Linked DNA regions of Homo sapiens: all the other regions are linked to region 3. Evidence: promoter capture Hi-C in human tissues and cell types (Jung and others, 2019). All regions are on one chromosome and are shown on one strand. Each heading gives the region's core, a stretch centred on a gene start or on the middle of the fragment in contact. The rest is flanking DNA. Distances are from core to core; before and after follow the strand shown.

Region 1 (2,880 bases), core at 300-2,799, 140 kb after region 3:
AAAAAGAAAGGTATTTAACTTGGCATTGTGGATCCTGGAAAGGAAGACAACGCTTCTTAAAAAGAAACAATTTTGTGGTTGGTTTCAGTTATTTTCCAGTTCTTAAAGGAAAGTTCAACAGAACAGACAGGTCTTCTATTACTACTGTCCACAAAAGGGGGATGTCTTAAATCTTGAGGAAATAGCTCCGTGGCCTTTCTCCAATGATTAGTGAACACAGCTCTTCCAAACACCCTTCCAAAGCCATGGCCTGGATATATTTTTTTAATTTAGTCCTAGGTTTCTCTGTCAGTTTAGAATTGAATCTTCTGATTCATCAAAAGAGCCAAAGAATATTTAAATGCCTATCGTTTTACGAGTCAAGTACCCAGCTCTAAGTTACTGACCTAATGGTTTAAAACACGGTTCCCACGCTGGGTGCATATGAAAATAAATAAACATAAAAAAGATTCCCAAAGAAGATGGTATGCTCAAGTGACCAATGAGTGATACAGTAAGCACTGCTGTGTCACACTTCTAAGATGTGGGGAAGAATTTATAGAGAAGGCATTTTTCTTCCAAAAGAAACTAGGACAGTAAAGCCCAGAGGACAACATGATGTATTTTGGGCAAAGGACTCTGCACAAATAAAGAGAATGAGTTTGACTTTAAAAAAATAAAAAAGAAAGATGTCAATTCAAGGAGACTGTAATCTTTTAGAAAGCAAAAACCAAGCTGACAGAACACAACAGGCAAAAGCAATCATTTATAACCATTTACACAGTCATCCTCAAAACTGAGTGACTAAAGATTCCTAGACACTGATTTACTAAGGATTAAAAAAAACTGGACAGAAAGTTAGTTGTGATAAGCAGGTAGGTAAACAGATAAAGAGCAGACAAGAAGGACACAGACATCGCCAAAATTATCTGCTTCTGAAAACAAGAACAACAGAATAACTTTCAATTCAAAATGTATCTCAAATGAAATGGCTTTAACATAGCCAGGTTTCTCACAAAACTATGCATGGTAGTAATGTCATTAAAAATGACATTGCCTTTCTAAAATGATTTTTAAAAGGCAACACCTTTTTACAAAAATCAATGAAGCAACAACAAAAATTGAACGGATGTCCCTAGAGGAATAGAAATACTTTTCTAATAGGTCACTTTTTATCAGAATTCAACCCTATTTCTTTTCTTCTTTTAAACATTTATGTAATGCCCTATCTGTAGTTCTAAATATTGTTACCATAATTTCATAATCCATTCACTCAAATTGTTAGAACATGTCAAAATTCACCCTTTCAATGAAATGAAATTTCCTATTAAACTTTATCTGCTTATTTAGATAACCAATTTACCAGATGCCTATTGTTCACATTTTTATATAGTCTTCAGTAGTTTTATCACTATCTGTAAAAGTGATATAACTTACGTAATCAAATGTGATATAAGTCCATAATCCTTCATCTGTGATTCTCAATTCAAAAAGCCCTAAACAGCAGGAGATTTTCATAATGTGTGACAACAATACATGACCTAGTGTGAGGCTATGATAGCCTTTCATCAGTCTGTTTCGTACGAATACATTTTACTGCAGATATATTCAATTGCTTGGAGATGGGGGTCCTGCTGAGGGTGTTATGTAACATACACCCATCTTCCTAAATCTACTAGATCATAAGCACCCCACTCTAAGTTGGACACCTAATTAATGGTTAAAACATGATTCACAGCTGCCTTCAATGAACTCGCAATGAAGAAAAAGATAAATATACATTTAAGAAGATTCCACAACAAAACTGTATATGTTCAAGCCACAAAAAGCACTGATTTATCACTTCTGGAACTCTCATTCCTAAAAGACATCTGGATTTTAAAACAGCTCTGATTGGTCTGTCACAGCTGAAGGTAAACACCATCAGCATCGTCAAGTGAATTCAGACAATGCCCATGTGGGATGTGCTCCTCCGAGGCAGATAGACATAGAGCCCATCAGTGTAAGTACACAACACCAAGAAGGTACAGTGGGATCTCAGTGCCAGGAGAGGGCTGGGGGTGTGAAAATGGAAAAGGTCAAAGAATAAACCAATTCTGTAAAGTCAGGGAGTGAAGGCTGTGCACTAAGAGCAGAATGAGTACACACCCTTTCTTCAGAGGCTCTTTTACTGAAAAGCTAAAGTTGTGAGGATCCACAGTGAGCGTGGTCCCTATTTTTCTATATCCACTCCCTACAACTGCCAGCCACAGAATGGGAACCTCTGAAGACTCTCCAGAAAGACCAGAACTTGGGAGAAACCAGACTCTTCAGCACAGGAGTTGGCATGGCAGAGCTGTCTGCCAAAAATCTGTTCTCTCCCCACCAACCCATCCATCACTGTAATAGATCTGTGGCCAGGCACAAGACCACCCAGCTAGACCCCATTTTCCAGCCTCTACTGTGTTTATGAGGTGGCCAAGTGACTAAGCTCTCTCTGGTGGCAGATAATACACTTTCAGGTGTTATGGCACTTTGGGGAGGTAAGATTTTCAAGTGTTAAGATTTAGGCACACACTCCTCAATATCTTCCCAATTGGAAAGCACAGGGGCCTATCACCCAGCCTCAACCAGGCACATAAGAATGATACCCTAAAGGATCCCAGATTATTTCCAGGAAACACTCATGAGTCCCTGAATGTCAGCGTGGAGAACTACCCTGCTGTCCTGAACCACTGACCTCAGAATTACCACCTGAAGGAGAAACAAACTTCAATGATTTAAAACTGGGTTTTTATTTACTTTATTACTTTATACTGGGGCTCTTTGATACAGTGACTTACTCTTCATCTAACAATGCTGGTGAGGAAACTATACCATGTACTAGCCATCCTATTCTGCCTGATCAATTTTAAAAACCCT
Region 2 (2,700 bases), core at 135-2,634, 180 kb after region 3:
GACCTACCATTCAATCCAGCAATTCCAATCCTGGGTATCTACCCAAAGGAAAAGAAGTCACATCGAAAAGACACTGCACACATATGTTTATCGCAGCACAATTCACAATTGCAAAGATATGGAACCAACCTAAGTGCCCATCAACCAATGAATGAATAAAGAAAATGTGGTCTGTATACACCATGGAATACTACTCAGCCATAAAAAGGAACACAATTACGTCTTTTGCAATGAATTGGGTGGAGCGGGAGGCCATTATTCTAAGTGAAGTAACTCAGGAGTGGAAAACCAAATACTGCATGTTCCCACTTATAAATAGGAGCTAAGCTATGGGTACCCAAAGGCATACTGGGTGGTATAATGGACTTTGAAGACTCAGAAAGGGAATGAGTGGGAGTGGAAAGAGGGATTTAAGAAAAAACTACATATTGGGTTTAATGTACACTACTCGGGTGACAGGTGCACTAAAATCTCAGACTTCACCCCTATACAATTCATCTGTGTCACCAAAAACCACTTATACCCCAAAAGCTATTGAAGTTAATATACATATATATTTACCTAATAATGTTACATATGTGTGTATAAAAAGAAAGCTTATATATGTGCATGTGTGTGTGTGTGTATATACATATATGTCTCTATATGTGTGTGTGTGTGTGTGTGTGTATATATATATATATAAATATAAAGAAAGCTGGTGGCTACCACTCCAGTAAGAGGTAGAAAGTGATGAATGAGAGAATGGAGAAACATGGCAAACTTAAGATATACTTGGGAGGTAGAATAAGAACCTCCAAGGTATTTTCTGGCTTTAGAAGCTTGAAAAGACGTAAGAAATATACTTCTATATTCTGGATTGAGTGACTGGGTTAGTGATGATGCCATTTACTGAGATTAGAAGCACTGGAAGGAGAACAGGTTTGGAAATTAAGTTTGAAGATGCAGAGTCCAGTTTTCAAGTTCAATTTTCTTTATAATACTGTGTTAGATGCTAAATAAGGTGTAGTGCCTGACCTTGGGGTTAACAATACAGAATAATATCCATTATTATAGTTTTGTAAAACAAAAGGCTAAATAGAGATATGTAGGATGTTGAGTTAGGCTGGTTAGGGGAGTTTACACTGCGGTAGTGAATAAACCCCAAAGTTCAGTGACTTAACCAACAAAAGTTTATTTCTTGCTTACATGAAGCCTAATGCAGGATCAGAGGACTTCCCAGAGCAGCTCCCTACATGTGGTCTGTTTAGGCCATTTCCATCTTGTGGTTTTACCATCCCATCACAAGACCTTTACACTTGCCAAGAGAAGAGAGAGTTGGAGGGTCATGCACCAACTCTTAGGTGTTTTGGATCAGAAGTGGCGCATCTCACTTCCACTCACAGCCCTTTGACCAGAAGAAGTCACATGGCCTTACCGCACTGGAAAGGAGCTGGCAAATGTGCAGCATCAAAAGACTCTATTCAATGAGGAGCAAGAATCTCTGCCACAAATATGAAATGGGAGTAGTTAATTATTTGAGGAGTCAAGACATCTTTCAGAGAGAGAGGCCACATTTGTGCTGGGAGTAAAGGAAGCCTTAGGATTGGTCATGTAATGAAGGCAGAGGAAGGACTGCAAGTTAAAGGAACATCACATACAAAAACACTGAAATATGTAAGAGCTGGATATGCTGGAGATGTCTGGGGAATGGTGAGAAGAAACTGACAGAGTAGAGGTTTTCAGGGAAGTAGAAGAAAATAGGTGATTATACAGATTGGGGAGAGCGCAGATATGCTAAAGAGGTTGTATTCTGATCTGTAGATGAGGGTGAGCCATTGGTGGTTTTTAGGCAAATAAATAACTTTATCAGGGGCAGTAAAACCATCTAGGAGATGGTCATATAGTCCAGAGAGGTGAGAGGCTCAACCTTTAGAAGAGGCCATGGAGGTTATAACAGATGTGTTATACATGTAGATATAGTAGATATATAAGTAGATATAATAAATATATCTACTTAGATGACAGAATGGGCGAATGAGTAAAACTAAAACCAGTAGCAAAAGAGGGTGAGGGAGAAGGAGCTGTGGAGAATAAATTTGAGGTTTCTAGCTTGGTCAGTTCAATGGATGGTGAAGCCATTAACAAAGGTAGGGAAAAAAGTCACGGGAACAGACTGAAGAGTAAAAATAACTCTTTCTGCAGCTAGAAATTCAAGCCTTTTGGATCATCCTTTGTTGAAGTTTGTTTACCAAGAACGAATCTATAACTATGTTGTAATAATATTTTTCTTAAAAAAAAATCCTTGCCTACAGAAACACTGGAAGAGTAGACTTTGTTATTAGCTAAAAGCACCTCCCTTCTTTGAGTCTTAGCCCAGTTTCTCTTGCCTACTGGATCCGATGTGCTCGGAGCATGGAAGCATCTGGAGCTGCCACATTTCCTCATTCAAGCCAAAACAAGTTAACTCATCTGTGGCTTATCTAATATCCGCCCTGTAGATCTCATGGGAGGATATAGCCCTTATTACTAAAATAATGTGTAGAAAACAAAAATAGCATAAATAGAAGTTTCTGAACATAATCTTTAGAGTTGACTTTCAAAATAACTTACTTACATAAAGTTAACATAAATTAATGTTTTGTGTTTAAGTGTTGCTTGGTTTTGACAAAGTATCTTTGCTGTATTTTTTGATATTCTTATGTGCATTAATTTAACTTT
Region 3 (2,700 bases), core at 73-2,572:
ATACACAGTAAAATAGTATTCTAGTCAGGCAAATTAATATGTTCATTATTTCACATACTTATCTCCACCTTTTTTTTTTTTTTGGTGGCAATCATACATGGTTTTGAAAATGGTAGTCAGAGATGATAGGTTGGAAGTTAATTCCAAGACTTTTTTAGACAAAAAGGACTGTAGCATTGCATTCAAACACATGCTCAAACATTATTCATGCCACTCAAATCCAATTCAGGCCAGCATCACCCGGAATGCACAATAATATTGGGAATGGCTTATACAATTGCATGTGCATGTGAGCATTATCTCATATTCATGCATGCACTTGTGTGGAAATGGCTCTTGGTCTTGGACCTATTGAAAGAATGATTGAAACGCCATCAGATGCAGGATGCAATATAAACATAAAACATCAGGGCAATTATACAGGCATATATCCATAGAACTAAGTGACAAGGAAAACACCCATAAAATGTTGCCATAGCTGACACATGCTTACAGTTAAGAGTTGCTAGGTTCTCACAAAGTTTTGTTTACATGAACTTAACGTCTAACACATGACAGCCAACTAGGTGCCCTAGATAAGATCAAATGATATATGACACAGGTGCCCAGTAAGTGCCTGTTGAATGAATATTACATGAAAATACTATGAAAAGTAACGTGATGCAAAAGTTAAGGGTATTGCTAATACTATTAAGGCTCATTTTTCCATCCGAAATTTGAAACATCAATTACAGGATTATTGAAGAGGTTCCTTTGCAATCTTTGTGGTGTTCACAGTCATGGGAAACATTGCCACCAAAACCTTTTAATAAAAGCACACGCTGGGGAAAGAACGTATATAACAACACATTATTGATTAAATAGCGGCCCCTTGGTCGAAAAAAGACATCAAGAAGGAACATTTTTAAGGTAAGGAAGACCCTCTTTTGTCACAGCTTATTGTCTTACTATTTTTAAAAAGCAGATAGCTTTATATATTAGTCTCATTTAAAATCCGTCTCTGGAGGAGCCCCAGATAGGGGAGGAGAAGGGAGCTCTAACAAGTTTCTGGACAAAGTGGGAATCCTCGGAGGTACGTTCAGCCATCACGGTCTGCAGAGAAAGGCAGATTCTCAGCCCAGGGCTGAGATGTTTCCTTGTGGAAGCCGACTCACCTTCCCTCCTGGAGGTGGCCCGGGCTGCGGGCAGGAGGAGCGAGAAGCAGAGGCAGCAGCCCAGCCAGAGCGCAGGCATGGCGGGGCCGGGCCGCTCAGTCTCTGTCTCCGCTGCAGGGGTCGCTGCCCGGCGCCTCGGTTGGTGGTTCTCACTCTGCGCTCCGCTGTGCCTTCCTTTTCCTTGATCAGGTGGTTTTATCGACTCTTCTACCTGACTCAGTCCTGACAGGAAGAGAGCCTGTGTTTCAGGGTGTGACTCACCTGTGAATAAGGAGGACCCAGCCCTCCAGAGGCAGACAAACACACAGAGCACAAACCGGGCTGGAAAATCGCTCCCCGCAGCCGCCCGCTCCCCCTCGCAGCGAGGAGGGCGCACACCTGGCCCGGGCCAAGGGTGTGGCACAGAGGCTGCGGCCCGGGAGCCTTTGCCTGGAATGTGCGAGATTCCCCGGAGCCCTCCTTCTCTCCCGGGGTGGTCCAGGGCAGATTCACAGAGGTAGACAGCAGCCCGCCCCTTCCTCAAACTGGGAGGCCCAATCTTAAGAGCGCTAACTCAGAAATAAGGCAGCAGCCCGAATCAGCTCCGGCTTAAAGGACATCAAGGAAGACAAGTCAGTCGGAGAGTCACAACAGGGTCCTCTCCACCCTCCAGTTTAGGGTCAACCTCTCCTTTCTCCAGGCTGAACCAAGGGTTTCTCTCCTGGTCCACATAACTTCCTGCTCACCAGGGTTAGCAACTCATAAAGTAACCTATTGACTGGCCAACCTCCCTATAAAGACTGAGTATCGTTTTCTTTTTGTTTGTTTTTTTGTTTGTTGGTTGGTTTTTGTTTTTGTTTTCAATGGCACCATCATAGCGCACTGCAGCCTCCAACCCCTGGGCTCAAGCAATCCTCCCACCTCAGCCTCTTGAGTAGCTAGGGCTACAGGCAAATGCCACCACACCCAGCTAATTTTTTAATTTTTTGTAGAGACGAGGTCTTGCTGTGTTGGGCAGGCTGACCTTGAATTCCTGGCCTCAAGTAATCCTCCTGCCTTGGCCTCCCAAAGTGCTGGGATTATAGGCATAAACACCATCCCTGGCCCACTTTATATTCCTAACTATAATAGTATCTAGCTTGCAGTTGGTGCTTAATAAATATTGGCTTGAAATGAATAAGAAAGAGGATCTAGATACCAAACTCTTTTACATCTTAGAGTGTATTTCTCAGCCACTCTCCATGGGCACTAGAGAAAATATTTGTTGAGACCAACTTTGAATGTTATCTACTAGCACAGTGCTAGCTGAAGTGAGTAATATCTAGACAACTGCAAATCTTGGTATAAACTATATTGTCTCTTCTCCTAAGGAGGCTAGTGACAATAATTCAGAGAGGTGGCTGTCAAGAAGGCTTTGGTTCCTGCTAGAGATTTAAAAATTGCTAGAGCTTTATAAATACACAATCTGTCCAAAACAACCAACCCTTCTTCTCAACATTGAGGCCTACAAAGGCCCCCAATAAATAGCTATTTGCTGACTAAATATATGAATATTCTCCAGATTGTT
Region 4 (2,788 bases), core at 97-2,596, 150 kb before region 3:
ACAGAGTTCAGATACCCTTGTTGTGAAGGTCTCTCCCTCCTACTCTCCTTGTAAACCTCCGTATCTCCTGAGATCATCCTGTGCCCAAAGATAGGCCAGCCTATTGTATTCACAGATTATTTATCCAACAAACATTGATGGGTGCCTGTAATGTGTCAAGCACTGGTTAGACTTGGGATCAGAAGATATATTAGACATGATCCTGACTTCTGAGACCCTATAATCTAGTTGGCAAAACATATAGTAAAAATAATGAAATAAAATGAATGAAGTACACAGGGATAACTGCAAAAAGGAGTATGCGCAATGTGGCAGCACAAAGGCATGATCAACTAACCCCATCCTGGGACACCAGGGAAGTTCTATTTTTCCCAAGCTTTAGGAAGGCATTATATAGACATTTCTCCCATGTCTATCCCAAGGAAACATAGCCAAGCTGGAACTGAAGATGACTACAGCAGAAACATCTTCAAGCTTGGCTGTTGCAAAAGCATCCATAATCAGAAAAAGAGCTTCCTCACATCACCTTGCCACAGAGGGGTGCAGAGGAGACTCAGGTGGTGGCCATGTTGGTGGTTCATTCACATTTTACACTAATGAGTGAAGGGCTATTTCCTTCCTATTTGCATCCACAGCTGGAGGTATAGATTTTTCAAGACATAGGGCCGGATTTGTGCAGAGGTATAGAGTAGAAAGAGACCATGTTGTTTCTACCAGAACTTTTTAATTTGGACATCTGAGTAGATGGTGTTGCTGTTAACAGAGACGGGATCTAACAAGAAGAAGGAAACTAGTTGTTTGGGGAATTGTTATTTTGGTTGTGATTGTTCGGTGACTTTTCACAGAAGCCCAGTAAAACGGGAATAATGCAACAGTTCAGTGGATTAAATGAGGAGATACCTGTAAGGTACCTGGTAGGTTATACTTGACAATTGTTATTAATTGATGTAGTGAGGAGCTGAGAGACCTGGCTGAATCAGATTTTTATGTTAATCTAATTCCAAGTTGTGCTCCAGTTCCTTAACTCTCTCCACTTAGGACAATATCATGTAACTTTTTCCTGACCCAGAACAGACAGGAAGTCAGCCCAGAGCTTCCTTACTAGGGCACCGTGGAGTCTCCCAACCCCAGGGCTTAGCTGTCCTGGCAGTTTGGGTCACGACCTGAAGAATGGGTGGCCTTGGGCCAGGTGCGGTGGCTCATGCCTGTAATCCCAGCACTTTGGGAGGCTGAGATGGGCGGATCACTTGAGGTCAGGAGTTCGAGACCAGCCTGGCCAACATGGTGAAACCCCATCTCCACTAAAAATACAAAAATTAGCTGGGCTTGGTGGTGGGTGCCTGTAATCCCAACTACTCAGGAGGCTGAGGCAGGAGAATCGCTTGAACCTGGGAGGCGGAGGTTGCACTGAGATGATGCCACTGTACTCCAGCCTGGGAGACAGAGCAAGATTCTGTCTCAAAAGAAAAAAAAAAAGAATGGGTGGCCTTGTACCTAACTCACCTGCTTCCACCGGCCCTGTGGCGACACAGACTCTTGAGTGTGTTGAAATAAACTTAGTTGAATCTGGGCTTTCAGTCTGAGGAGGCTGTCATAGAAAGCAAGGAGTCTATTGAAATTCAACAGGGCCGGGTATGGTGGCTCACGCCTGTAATCCCAGCGCTTTGGAAGGCTGAGGCGGATGGATCTCCTGAGGTCAGGAGTCTGAGACCAGCCTGGCCAATATGGTGAAACCCTGTGTCTACTAAAAATACAGCAGTTAGTCGGGCATGGTGTTGTGCTCCTGTAATCCCAGCTACTCGGAAGAGTGAGGCAGGAGAATTGCTTGAGCCCGAAAGAGACGGTGGTTTCAGTGAGCCGAGATCGTGCCACTGCATTCCAGCCTAAGTGACAGAGCAAGACACCGTCTCAAAAAAAATGAGACGGTGAGGAAGAGGCATCGTGCACATTTCCCAAAGCCTCTGCACTTGTCTTTATCACTTTCTCCTTTCGGCTTTCTTACTTAACTGGGAACAATGAGATCATTTTCTCCTTTCAGTTTTCTTACTTACTGGGGACAATTAGACAGCATTGGTGGATCCCGGAGATAGTTGAAGAGAACAAGAACACAGCTGGAAATGACAGAGCTAATGGCAGCATTTATAAGTCAGGAGGGGGAAGCACCAGCAGCAGATTATCTGTGAAGAAAGCCAAAAGGAGCACCATGTTTCAGGTTTATCCAGCAATGACTTGAGTTATGTGCAAGTCAAGCTGCTTAGAAAGTGTATTCGTTTCCTATTATTGCTGTTACAAATTACCAGAAATTTAGTGGCTTAAAACAATACAAATGTATTATCTTACAGTTCTGGAAGCCAGAAGTCCAAAACAAATTAGGTGGGCTGCATTGCTTTTAGAGGCTCTAGGGGAGAATCTGTTTCCTGCCCATTTCCACCTTTCAGAGACTGCTTGCGCTCCTTGGCTCATGGCCCCACATTACTCTGACCTCTGCTTCTTTCCTCACATCTCCTTCTCTGACTCTGACAATCCAGCCTCCCTCTTATAAGGATCCTTAAGTTAAATAATCAGGATTATCTTCCCATTTGAAGATCCTTAACTGAATCACATCTGTAAAGTCCCTTCTGCCATGTAAGATAACATACTCTCAGATTCTGGGGATTAGGATGTGGATATCTTCATGGGGGCAGTTATTCTGCCTACCATAGTAGAGATGACCCTCTCATCCCACTCCAGCCTGAGTTTTCTTTTGGCCCAAGGACCTCTCTGAAGATGTTCAGTAAATGCCTCTGAG

Evidence for each region. Contacts are between HindIII fragments. The study calls those that stand out against the background at their distance.
Region 1: a fragment that was not itself captured here is called in contact with the fragment with the promoter of LAMC2 in region 3 in 1 of the 25 tissues and cell types used here (aorta).
Region 2: a contact is called between a fragment that was not itself captured here and the fragment with the promoter of LAMC2 in region 3, in 3 of the 25 tissues and cell types used here (H1 embryonic stem cells, IMR-90 fibroblasts and aorta).
Region 4: a fragment that was not itself captured here is called in contact with the fragment with the promoter of LAMC2 in region 3 in 1 of the 25 tissues and cell types used here (pancreas).

Annotation. Positions count from the first base shown.
Region 1 is chr1:183,041,960-183,044,839 of GRCh38, reverse strand. The region is part of intron 1 of LAMC1 (laminin subunit gamma 1); the gene reads right to left. Among named protein-coding and RNA genes, the nearest start is that of LAMC1, 20 kb to the right of the region's middle. The HindIII fragment of the contact is 6,365 bases long and covers 1-2,880 here.
Region 2 is chr1:183,003,119-183,005,818 of GRCh38, reverse strand. No RefSeq gene overlaps it. Among named protein-coding and RNA genes, the nearest start is that of LAMC1, 19 kb to the left of the region's middle. The HindIII fragment of the contact is 3,870 bases long and covers 1-2,700 here.
Region 3 is chr1:183,184,886-183,187,585 of GRCh38, reverse strand. LAMC2 (laminin subunit gamma 2) reads right to left here and starts at 1,322. Exons shown (of 23, transcript NM_005562.3): 1 at 1,155-1,322. The coding sequence starts at 1,233. RefSeq lists a silencer at 1,279-1,348 and enhancers at 753-1,952, 1,455-2,037. The HindIII fragment of the contact is 15,048 bases long and covers 1-2,700 here.
Region 4 is chr1:183,333,205-183,335,992 of GRCh38, reverse strand. All of the region lies in intron 1 of NMNAT2 (nicotinamide nucleotide adenylyltransferase 2), which reads left to right. Among named protein-coding and RNA genes, the nearest start is that of NMNAT2, 84 kb to the left of the region's middle. The HindIII fragment of the contact is 4,013 bases long and covers 1-2,788 here.